Regions from separate parts of the Homo sapiens genome. Here all the other regions are linked to region 3. The links are contacts of gene promoters, found by promoter capture Hi-C in blood cells and fetal thymus (Javierre and others, 2016). All regions are on one chromosome and are shown on one strand. The core of a region is centred on a gene start or on the middle of the fragment in contact, and the rest is flanking DNA. Distances in the headings are between cores, read along the strand shown.

Region 1 (4,094 bases), core at 651-3,150, 140 kb after region 3:
CTGGCCTGCACTCTGATCCTGAAGGGATATGAAGCCAGAAGCCCCCAATCCATCACACTCCTGGTGGACTTCAGAATTAGCCCATACTTTAGAGACACACACAAACACACTGCAATTTGCTGGCTCCCTAACCCCCCTACTCCTAAGAATCAAAATCTTGAAATACAGGCACTTTTTGAACAGATTTTCTTGAGCATGCTTGGCTAACTACTGTCTTTACTTCTCATACAGCAAAAAGAGGTGTACTTTACTGCTGCAGAACTGTTATGTCTTACTTATGTGGCACTGGCCTAAGGATAAGAGGGGTCCCCACAAGTACATTTGCCATATAGCTAAAGCGTAAAGTAGCAGCAAAATCTGTTATGTTGGCCATTTTGGATAGAAATTTTCCTTAAATGAATTACCATACTTTCTAGTCTTATTATCGGAGTGCTAAAGCACAGTCTACCTTTTCCAAGGTATTCCCACAACAATCAAATTATCTGGCAGTTCTGTAATACAATAATAGTCTTAGGTACTATGTAGCTAGATGAAGCCAAAACAGCTCTCCTTTTGTAATGTTTTTTCCTCTGTCTTCTTTTATTACCTCGAGCAATAACCTTTCCCCCACTCCAAATCTACTACAGGCTTAGAAACATTAATATCAACCTTCACCAGAAAAAAAGCACGTATTTTCATTTTTGTCTCCACTATGAACAGGGTTCTAGATACCGTAAGCTACTGGTTAACCTTCAGATAAAGGATGGCTTAAACGTGGTTGATGAAAATTCATGGGAGTATAGAAAACCACAATATGCCACCCTAAAAATATGCCTCTTAGGCATAAGGATTGTTTTGAGTTGAATGCAACTGAGAAAGAATAGATGCAGGAAAACTTTCCGTCCTCCCTCTATTGCCTAGAAGCAGAATATAAATGTATAAAGACAAAAGGTAGCCCACCCCACTTCCCTACACCATGAAGGACAAAGATTACCCACTGAAGAGAGCTTTGGGCCTTTCTGGGCCTCTAGATGGCACCAGAGGAATCAACACTGCCAAGCTTTACTAAGGAGCCGCATCTGCCAATTTTTTGCTTCCCCTCACTTGCCACCCCTAGAGACTCAAAGTCCTTTTCCTTCATCTTGTCACTTCTCTAAAAATTTATTATTCTTTGTTGAAGATTCGTTGGAATTCAAAGCCACCTCTTTGAAATTACTCATTCCCTGGGTATCTCCATGTATATATGAAATATGTACTTTAATAAACTTTTGTTTTTCTGTTGTCTTTTATTAAAGGGTTCCATTTTAACTAAAAAAAACAAGGGTTGAGAACAAATTATTTTCCTCCCCTACAGTGGTAAAACTAAACTGCTGTCTTTAAAAAAAAAAAAAAAGGTTATATATGCCCATCAAAAAAAATGTAGAAAACTCAGCAAGGTAGGAAGATAAGAAATAAGAGTTATAGCTGCCAAACATAAACACAACCAATTCCAGAATGTCTTTCTCTGAAAACTGATTTTGCTTACCTGTTCAATTACAGTTTTCAACCACCACTGAGGACCCATCAATGTTATAGCTGCAATGATTTTGGCATGCAGGACTCCAAGTGCCCAGTCCTAGGGAATTAAAAACCATTTAACATATTTCTGTTGTTTTTTAACAATAAACACAGCAGAGAGGCTGTATAATTTTCTTACATTATTTCACATCAAAATAGAAGTTCTATAGGATTGGCAACAATTTTACAAAAGACTAACGTACTGAAAACCCAGAGAATTTTTTTTCTTCAACAGCTCAAATTCAATGTTTCCATCAAAAATTGTTCTTCTATCTTTTAAAAATCTATATTGTTTTCCCAAGAGTTAGAGAAAGTCTGGTCATTAATGGATATCTCAAAAAGCAAATAAAATAAATGCCAAGATTTTATTTCAAACTATCTTTAGGCTATTTCATTGGTTTCAAGTGAGCTGATTTATGTCAAATTAAGACTGTGGAGCAAAGTTTGGCCTAAGAAACCATTCTAAAGGCTCACAGATAGCTTCTAGCTTGAAGCATTTGTGGTTCTACTGGGGAACTGTTACTAGGTTCCTCCTCATGGTGCAACGGACTCTTGGCCTGCCCACCCTCCAGCTCTCCACCAGACAGAGTGATGACTACTTCCTCCCTCCCCACAGCCCCCTTCCCCACCACCACCAAGTATCTCTTTAAATGCAAATCAGATCATGAACGTAACTTCCCTGCTTAACAACCCTGAAGTCCTTAGCAAGGCACACAAAACCCTTTATAACCTGGTCTCTATCTAGCTTATTTAAAACAACAACAACAAAAAACGGTATTAAAAAAAAAAAAAGAAACCACATGTAACATTTAGACTGATTCTTACATAAAACCAAAATCTTTACAGAAAAGACGGGAGTCCTCTGTGATCACTACCTTAAATCCTGATCCCTCCCCAGCAATAACCACTATTAGCTTTTGGTACATACCATCCATGTTTTTCCCCATGCATTCAGCTGCATCTATACATCTATATCCCATAGAAAGTATGTAGTATCATTTTCATATGGACTTTGCTCAGATTGTTAATTCTCCTCTTCACTGTCTACCATCTTGAGGCCAATGTTCCCATTTCTTTACTGGTTTGATTGGTTATTCTAAGGATCTTCTTCAAATGGGGTGAGAGGTTGATACATACACTGAATTCTTGAATACCCTCAAATATCAATCTTCACCCTGATAGGTGAACAGCTAAATGATTTTTTGTCTGGGTAGAGGAAGCTTGGCTTTTGTCCCTTTTACCCAGTCGTCTATAAATTCTCTGATCTTATGGTTTTCAGTGCTACAGAAAAAAAGTCCAATGACAATGCAGTTTTTTGAAGCTTGTTTTGATTTCCCCGTGTCTAATAAGATATACCCAATTACGTGTTTTTATCTTGGATCTCAATCTTACCAAATCTCATGAGCCCCTTCAAACTACAGAATCAGATCTTTCTTCAATTCAGTTAAATTTTCTCCTGTTTTTGTATCAATGCTGCCTCACATTTGTTCCTTCTGGAACCCCCGTTATCAGTACGCTAAGTCTCCTAGATGTTTCCTCCAAAACATTTCTCTTTCTCAATTTCCTCTTCCGTTTTGCCCAGTGCTTTGCATTCATCTTCCAAGCCTCCAAGCCAAGCCCAGTGGTGACTGTCCACATCTTTTTTCACTACTAGATTTGTCTGAAATCTATGTCATACAGCTCCACAACAACTGCGTTCTGCTTTAGAGCTGCTGTTTGTATGTGCGTGTGAACATACTGCACTCGGCGTCCGTGTATTTCCTCTTCTCTCTGGAAGCTCATGGCTCTGCAAGCAGTGCTGTCAAACTGGCATGTGTTCTGACTGCTCTGCCTTAACTTCCTTTCTGCGGCTGCTAAGCCTCCTGCATATAAAGCACTTGTTATAATTTCCTCTGCAGCCTCAAGGAGGCTTGGGCCTGGCTGAGAATATCCTAAAGGGCTTCAAAAGGATCTTTTACGTCTTCAGACCTTTGGGATAGCCCTCCAACAGTCTCCTACTGAGGAACATGAAGAAAGCCTCCCTGCTTTTTCTCACAGGCAGGGAAGATGCAACAACCCACCAATTCAGCTTTCTCTTGGCCTTCTGGGAGTCCAGCAGACACCCAAATGAGATTAATGTTTACCCAAGGAGGTCCAAGATCACTGTGATTCGCGTTCTCCAAAAACCCACTGCTTTGCAGTCCTCTCCTGCCAGACAGGACACACCACACTAGCTGCTCTGCTAGAATTCCAACTGGCCCACTATCCCACGGAGCTGCAGCCACTTGCTGCAGGAAAGGCAAGTAGCTTAAAGTCATGAATTAAGAAAAAGCAAACTGTTCCTTCAAAAACTTGGGGGTTTAATGCAAAACATTAAGGATAGCACGCTGCACATTATCTGTCTACAGCTTGTGCTTTCCCCCAACTCAGAAACACGTCTGGGAGCTATCGATATCAAAACAAATATCTCTACTTCATTTTTTCAATTGCTGCATTGATATTCCACATTTTATTTGGGCATTCTCTATTGGTGGACATCTAGATCACTTCTCATTTTTTGCTATAAAAAATGATGTATT
Region 2 (4,042 bases), core at 893-3,392, 140 kb before region 3:
TTCCTGATTCAAACGCATCAGGAAATGGGTGAAAGGAAGTTAATCTGGTTTCCTTAAGATGACTCAGAGCCCCATTACACTAAGGGGCATTTCAGTCTCTCAGAGGAGGATACAGGAAGTAGTGTTTCCAGAATTTAGTTGACCACAGGCTACTCAAATTGCATTGCAGGATGAGAGCCAGGCAGAATGTATTTTGGGCCACAATTCTGAGGTTGTGCATCCGACAGGTGTAGGAAGACCAGAGCTAGCCAGAAAGTTTGAGGACCCACGTGCTTGTCCTGGCTCCACTTCCTCCCATTCCCTCGACCACAGGGACTGTCTACCTCTAAGCTGCTTTCTCACCTGTATGAAAAGGAGGTCAGTGATGCTTGTGGGCTCCTGGCCCTGTACACTGCGCAGGAAAGACTGAGGGATCACAGGCAACGGGCTCTAGAATCAGTGAAAGGCCACACAAACAGAAGACAGGTGTTGGTGCTCAGTTCTATTAACCCAGAAAAGACCAAGATACAATTTGGGGAAAATTCCCTGATTACATTTGTTCTATTCTGCTTTGCCAAGGGTTTCACTTAATTGAATGAATCCAATTTTACTCTATACAGATAAGTGTATAGAGCTGACCATGGCATCTCCATGTAATCCAGGAGTAATCTTTTTACCTCCTGACAGTTTTACCGTCTTACCTGTTTCTAATCCATTTCCCTTTCTTGGCAGCAGACTGGGCGACAGCACAGAGACACATAGGAAGTGGTGAGCGGAAAGTGCCCATGTCTCCAAGGCAAATACACATTCCAGAGCACTCAGAAAACTGCAGAGGGCTTTATGTTTTCACACTGAAACTCATGGTGGCAAAAATTGAGCTGATGTGAGGATATTTATGGTCCCTAAATCCTACTTAGTGTAATATCCATACATTTTGCTGTAGAAAAATTAATGGGTTTGAATATGGGGTGCTGCCCAAGCCCCTCCAGAACTGTTCACTATATATGATTTTTATAACATATTGCCTTTATAAAACTTGAAAAATCCTGAATTCTGAAACCTATGTAGCCCCAAGGGCTCCAGGTAAAAGAGATCAGGGACTATAAAGGAAACTCTGGGGTACAAAGGCACCTGTGGAGATGAAGGTCACCAGGCTGGCTGGTATTTGACAGGCAGGACGCCCTGTTCCCAGGTTCAGGCAAGAGGTTGCCCAGCCCTCGGGATGCTGCTTTCTGCCACAGCATGGTGCTGTGAATTCTCCCCCTCTTCACCGCTGCTGTATTTTTTGTGAAGCCATAGAGACAAGCCAGTGCCTGGCCCCCAGCAAGGCTGGAGAGGCAGTGAAGGCACATCCCCACAGCCACGCCCTGCGCTGTCCTCTACCTGGAGTCCTTGGGCAGCCAGCCAGGGGAAGGCTCCCTGTGCCCCCCACACCCAGGCTGCTGTGTAAAGAAGCAATTGGCATGAGCCCCAGGACACTAGCTACTGCCAAAGCCAGCAGTATTTTATGAGCCTTAAAAAATCTTGTTGTACCAGTCCGTTATGAATTATTGAATTAACACTGCATATTTATAGCAACTTCTTAATAGTTTAATAATTTATTCATCCCTTATGGATCCTTTGGCATATTTCTTTTAATTGTTAGAGTAAAGAGTTTTTTTAGAGCTAACTTCACTGGACTACTTCCTCAATGATGCTTCCAGAATACTAAAATAGAATCCTGCACAGTTGTTCCGAAGCTTAAAGCACCTGATGCGCAGCAAAGACCTGCCCACATGCGAGTCGGTGACACCCCCCCTGCCTGTGCACAGGGCTGCAACTACTCTGTAGAAGCCCACAGCCAGCCAGGCCCAGCTCTCAGCCCCAACTCAGCACACTAGCATTTCACAGCCTACACTTGGATTACGTGTCTTCTGAGACAGTTTAGGAACCTAAGCATCATTCATATTGTTTCTAAAGGGAAAAACATCTTACTGTGTCCCAACAAGTAAGCTCCCTATTTTGGGAGCACCCCTGCTTTGTAAGATGTGTCCTACTGCCCAGAGTGAGTCATTCCTCACAGAGCCCTGCTCCTAGGTGCTTGGTGATAAGGGGAATCAACAGAAACAGGCTGTTTCCCAGCATTCACTTGCAGATGACTAAACCCAGAAATTGTGGAGTAGCCTTAGGTAAGGAGACGAAAGTTGAAAACTTAAGACCCAGATTCTTCAGGCATTTGAGACTCTGGCTGAGGAGGCAAGGCATGCCAGATCGTTTATGCTCAGGGTAAGGGTGCACATCTGTCTGCATGTTACTGTCCCTTTTGCAAGGGTTTTTTTGGTCATGAGTGACATCGCACTTTATTAAAAAGACATGCTTTCTTAACAAGATGAGCTACCTTTGATGCTTAGTCTTTCTCTGGTTTAGGCAAGAGTCCTGCAAAGCCATCCAGCTGTTGTTGGCAGCTGCCAGGAGTTGCCATAAAGAAGGTAGATGGAGTTTTTCCTGTTGAATTCGTTAATTCAGGCTCGTGAATGTGGTCATTGATAACACCCCATCCCTCTTTTCCTTACCGCCTCTAGCTAATTGTGCTTATCATTTAAGCTTCAGCTCATGGCTCTATCACCATTCTCAAGTTTGCCTTGAAAAGATCTGAAGAAGTACCTGTTAGCCTGAGCTCCCTCTAAAGAGGGAGAAAAGCCAATCTTCCAGGTCAGTCTGGCAAAAGCTGGAGGAAGGGCCCATTTGCTTGGGGACTCCAGATATCAACCCATGGCCAGCAGATCCAGCTCAGCCAGATTGTCGGGTCACAAAAATAAATCCACTATCTCTAATCGCTCTTTTGCCTCTTTTGCAAGCCTTTGAGGCGGGCAGGGCATGAGAGTTACTCATTCCTAAGAAATGAGCAACAAACAGTTCCAGCTAAGCACCCTGGTTCATTCACTGCCTGGCCACGACCACAAACTTGTGCTAAGCTGAGGGTCGCTGACCGGTGATGTCATTTGGTGCTCAAAGCATTTGTTGAGTATGTGTGCGCACCAGACCATGTGCCAGGCGCTGGGCACACAACAAATTCCACCATGGTCCTTGACCTTGAAGGGGAGCCATGCGTGCAGAAGCCTAAAGCTGTGTTGTGATAAGCCTAAAGCCATGTTGGGAAGTTCTTATGGCAACACAGCTGGGAAAGTATAAGTCCTGCCCTTGGAGGGGAAGGAAAGTGATGGAAAGAGAACATGAGCCAGCCTTGAAGTTGCTGTTTATCAGCTGGCTCAAGTATCAAGGTGGAACCAAGCACAGGCAATCCGAGCATTTCTTCCATGAAAAATGAAACTTAAGTGTCCCGGAAAAGTTGAGGATCATACCAGAATTCTGTGTCTCAGCTTGGAGTGACCATGCAGCATATTTAGTCTGACATGCTTTGAGAGTGAAAGAAAGCACTGCTAGTAATAACACCAGGACCAATGCCTGAACCCAGACCGTCCCAGGGAATCAGGGACATAACCATCATCCTAGGGATAACTTGAGGCCTAATTTGCTGCCCTGAATGAAGTTCATTCTCCCTCTACTGGTCAGAGACGAGATGGCAGGGGATTGGTTGCACCACCCACTGCCCCCCCGCCCCCCGTCCCCCTCAACCTTTTTATTTATTTATTTATTTTAAGAAACTGATAGAAGACAAATACAATGTCATCTGACATTGCAATCATTATTGGAAACTACAATGCACAGTATGTTTGTACTTACATCCTTGAAAACCATTTTAGGGCTCTCAGCCCCGTTACTGAACCATAAAGATGCTGGGTTTAAAAATATTCAAATTGGTTCCTTATTGAGGCAAATGCTGAGGAAAAGCAGCAGATTGCATCTTGAGCTTGAAAAGAACTCCTCTTTGACTTGCGTTCTCCATGATACAGCTGACTTCTTTTAAATCGGTGTTGTGAGTTAGTGCTCCTGTTCCATCTTCACCTGCCTTTATTAAACAAGCAACACAGAGGCAGATGACTTCTCTGGGTGCTTTATGCATGTATCTCACTTTAAACACTGCGTTTTTTGTTTCCTTGGGAAATAAGCCCTCATAGCCAAT
Region 3 (4,104 bases), core at 806-3,305:
GTCCCCACCCAAATCTCATCTTGAATTCCCACGTGTTGTGGGAGGGACACGGTGGGAGGTAATTGAATCACGGGGGCAATGTAGTACAAGGGGAGAGTGACATTGGAGGGCTTCCCATCCACCTAAGCCCAGCCCAAACCACAGTCAGGGCAAACCACTTGCCCCACCCACTGCAGGATAAACCAAAGGCACAAGGTCACCCGGGTCCCCAAGTCAAAGCACATGTTTTCTGTCAGCTGCAGGCTCCTGAGCAAAAAGCATGTGCATTTGTGCTAGGCTGCATCTGCAGATACCACGGTCCTTGGACAATACAAAAATCAGGTGAGAACGCTGCCATTTGCCCACTGAGCACAGACTACGGGGAACTTGGCCACCGTGGTCACTCTGCAGTTTTCCCTTGAAGTGCTTTGCTTGGTGGAAGGTGTTCCACCAGCCAGTCCTTCTCAGGTCTTCTTAAGCCAACTTTTTTTCTTTTCCTTTCTTTTCTTTTCTTTTCTAAACATCTCGTTTTCTCTGAATCTGGTCATAACGAAAGGATAGCCTGTGCCTGCCTCCACGCCTCCTGCCCTACCCGGGTGGATGCCCGCGGCTCTGGGGCTCTCCCTATGCCCTGACTCTGGGGAGCCCCGGCTGGCATTGGCTCGCGAAGGTGACCTGCGGACAGACCAGTCAGAGATCACGTTGGCTGGTCGCGGCGCGGGCCACAAAGCTCAGCGGAGGTGGGGTAGGGGACCAAGCTGTCCCGGCGAGGGAAGAAACTGTTGCTTCCAAATCATTGCGGCTGGAGGAGCCGATCTGCGCCCCAGCGTGTTAGGACAAGGGCGGCGCGAGGGGCCCAGGGGCCAAATGGGGCGCTGGGCAGGAGGGGCTGTCTCCTGCAGGGGAGGAGGAATGGTCCCCTGCCAGGGACCTGGGGAAAGGTAATAGTCAGGAGGGGACCGGGCCGCAAGAAGCCCATCCTGGATTGCAGCACGGGCAGCCAGCGCGAATTCAGTCAGGAGGTCCACGGGGACCGGTAAACGAGAAGGGGATGCGGTGAGGACGCCGGACTGGCGTTTCTGCCGCGCTGACACCTCGACTGCTCCCTCCCCGCACCGCGTCCCCCAGCCTGAGACGGGGAAGCCACCCAGGGCACCGCGCTCCCAAACAGCGGGGAAAAGGCGCTCTGGGCGGCGGCTGAGTGACCGAGGGACCGGTCCGGAGCCAGGAGCTGGGAGGCGCGGGGATGTGGTGGGGAGGAGGGGAGTGGGGGCAGTGAGGGGGCTCAAATCCTGCGGGGACGCCCGCTTACCCTGCCGTTGCGGTCAGTCTCCTGCGCCTCCTCGACGCTCACCCCGCGCCGCACCAGCGTCCGCAGCAGCCCCACGTTGTTGGCGCAGGCGGCGCGCAGGAGGGTCGCCGTCTCCGGGACGCTTTCCGGGACGCCCTCCGGGACGCTCTCCGCGCTCTCGACGCCGTGCTCCTCCTCGTCCTCGAAAGGGTAGAAAGAGTCGTCCGAGGCGATGCTGCGGGTGTCTGGCAGACTCGAGAAGTCCTCAAACTCTTCGTAGTCAGCGGGGTCCTCCTCGACCTGCGCGCCCCGGGGTGGGGACGGCGGTGGTGGGGTCATGCAGCGCGCCCCGCCGCCCTCCGGCCCGGTCCCGGCCAGCAGCACCATGCCGGCGGCCGGGGCGCGGGCCGGGGGCCGGGGCGCGGGCAGGAAGAGCGGGACGCGGGGCGCGCGCCGAGGTCCCCGCTTCTCGCTTCTGCGTCCCCAGAGAAGCCGTGGCCCGCGCGCTCCAGCTCGGCGGAAACCGGCACCAGGCGGCTGCGCTCAAAGAAAAAAGTCTCCGGAGGCTGAGCGAGCCCCTGGGGTGGGCGGGACCGCGGGGGCTTTCCGAGGCGGGGCGGGGCGGGGCGCGGGGACACGCCTTCCCCCGGGGCCTTCCCCTCGCGCCCCTTCCTGGCCAGAGTTCAGAGCCAGGCAGGCGCTCTCTCGAGCGCGGGGACTGGGCACCTGGCAGCGTTGCCCCAGAGCTGGGGACAGCTGGCGCGGGAGAAGCAGAAGCAATCACTAAAGAAGCCGAACCCGAGTCGCGGGCGGCAAGCGGCCCCGCCCCTCCCTCCGCCGGCCCGCGGGATGGGGGCGGAGGTGGCGGCGGGGGGACGCCGGGGCGGAGCCGGCCTCCAGCTTCGGGAACCTCGGACCCCTGGAGCCGGCCTCCGCCGAGGGCGTCGGGCCCCCGGACCTGGGTGGGGCCGGTTTCTCCCGCCGCTTCAGAGGAGCAGAGCGGGTTTTCTCCCTTCGGGGGATCCCGGGCTTCGGGGCTGACTCCACCCGGCCGCGGCCGCTTGGAGGCCGGGGAATCCCCGGGGCGCTTGGCGGGCAGAGGAGCCGGGCGCGGGAGCGGAGCCGTCCACCTGGGACCTGTGCCCGGGGAGCGCTGCGGGCCGGGCCACTCTGAACTGGGGGCGGTCGGCTGCTGTGGGGGAGTCCCAGCCCGGAAGGGAGGACAATCCTCAGAGTCCCCCGTCTCGCGGAACCGGGGCCGGCCGTGGCTTGAGGGTTGGTCAGATCCTGGGATGGGGGGCGGGGTGTTCCGGAACCTCAGGGAGCATCTGAGTGGGAACGGACGACGAGGAACTCCCCGTCCCCATGCCTGGCCTGTGTCACGTGCGGGGATCTGCGGACTCACCCCCGGAGGCTGCGACTGGGCGCTGACCCCACGTCTGGCTGCCCAAAAGAGCAGGGCCGCGGGCGACAGCCGCAGTCCAGGCCCACAGCCCCTCTGGCCCGGCCTTGCCCTCTCCCCGTCAGTCCTGGCGCCGGGGATGGGCGGGGAGGAGGAGGGCGTGTGAGGATTTGCCACAGGGAGCCCTTGACTTCGGGGTAGGAGGCGTCGTGAGCCAATCTTGGGGGAAGGTCTCTGCGCAAAGGCGCGGAGGTGCGCTCGCGCCCGTCGCAGGTCAAAGACTGCGGAGGCCACCAGCCCTGTGTCCCCCTAGCCTCCTTCCTTCCTTTTTTTCCCCCGATCTTGACAGCGTGTCCACCAGCTGCCAGCCGGTGGGAGGCCCTCGCGGCCCCAAGGTGAACACAGCTAGGCTGGCGCAGCCGCTGGGGACCAGGCTTGAGGCCCACGTGCCGCTGGGCAAGCTGAGGGGCACGAGGGCACCGAATCCGAAACAGCCGTGGGAGGTGTAGGATGAGGACACGTTTAAACTGCGAAGCCGCTCGAGCCCTCGTGTCACACCGCACTGGCCCGACCCGCTGTCCTGGTCGCCTGGTCTTCCAGTGTCTCCAGCAGGAGCCAAAGGGCCTGCTGGCGGCCCCCGACCCGGCATCTGCAGGGCCCCGGAGGGTGGGGCGCGCGGGAGCACCGATTTCTGGTGAAGACGCCCTCGCACCTGGGCGGCTCTGAGCGAGCAGCGAACTGAGACTCGCTGGCCTCCTTCTCTACTCCGGGGATTCTTTCTGCAACCAAAAATAGCCCCCAGATTACAGTAAACTCTACCTTTTTGTGTAACTGACCACAGTTTGCATCAATTCCCACTGGGAATTTCCCCTTTCAAGGTTGAGGGTTGTTTCCAAAGGCCTGGGGTAGTTACAATTTCAAGTGCCCCCTGAGGGCTGAGTTGGGTTTGCTGGACCCACTGTCCTCCCAGGGAGAGCACTGCGTCACTTTACAGCAAGAGTCCCGGCTGCGGGTCACCAAGGCCCAGGTGGACAGGGCCAGGCCCTGAGAGGGGAGCACCACGCAGCCTTTTCTGGCCTCCCGTAGGCGATTGGTGCTCATTGACCGCGTCACTCAGCAAGGGAATTGAGGTTCTATCTTCAGAGTTTACCACTTCCTTTTCTTCCTTAGAAATTTGAGTCCAAATAGCATTTGAATGTGTTTCCCCTTAAATATAAACTAAAATGTCATCGTCTGCTTCAAAGAAGAACTATCGTTTATAAGTAAGTGGTCCGATTCAGGATGCAAGCTGATCATTTTCCTGTCTTTTAAAAATAAACCGCTAAGAAGAAACAATAAATAAAAAATAAAATATGCTTCTTTTACAACAAAGACAGTAGAGTCTGGACATTTCTGGAAGATGGGCTAAAAGAAACACAAAATCGACCGGGCG

The links. Contacts are between HindIII fragments. The CHiCAGO score rates a contact against its expected background, and 5 or more counts as called.
Region 1: a fragment that was not itself captured here is called in contact with the fragment with the promoter of ANKRD33B in region 3 in 5 of 17 cell types (neutrophils, total B cells, naive B cells and 2 more); the score reaches 20.7 in neutrophils.
Region 2: a fragment that was not itself captured here is called in contact with the fragment with the promoter of ANKRD33B in region 3 in 2 of 17 cell types (neutrophils and total B cells); the score reaches 6.7 in neutrophils.

The regions. Positions count from the first base shown.
Region 1 is chr5:10,421,235-10,425,328 of GRCh38, reverse strand. MARCHF6 (membrane associated ring-CH-type finger 6) reads right to left here. Exons shown (of 26, transcript NM_005885.4): 23 at 1,505-1,594. Among named protein-coding and RNA genes, the nearest start is that of ROPN1L-AS1, 19 kb to the left of the region's middle. RefSeq lists an enhancer at 3,298-4,094. The HindIII fragment of the contact is 1,717 bases long and covers 1,042-2,758 here.
Region 2 is chr5:10,701,142-10,705,183 of GRCh38, reverse strand. All of the region lies in intron 2 of DAP (death associated protein), which reads left to right. Among named protein-coding and RNA genes, the nearest start is that of DAP-DT, 58 kb to the left of the region's middle. RefSeq lists an enhancer at 1,575-2,297. The HindIII fragment of the contact is 844 bases long and covers 1,721-2,564 here.
Region 3 is chr5:10,562,021-10,566,124 of GRCh38, reverse strand. ANKRD33B (ankyrin repeat domain 33B) reads right to left here and starts at 2,055. Exons shown (of 4, transcript NM_001164440.2): 1 at 1,292-2,055. The coding sequence starts at 1,657. RefSeq lists enhancers at 1-100, 392-481, 872-1,081, 204-1,097, 1,098-1,992 and 1 more and silencers at 202-251, 1,222-1,271, 1,612-2,471. The HindIII fragment of the contact is 7,834 bases long and covers 1-4,104 here.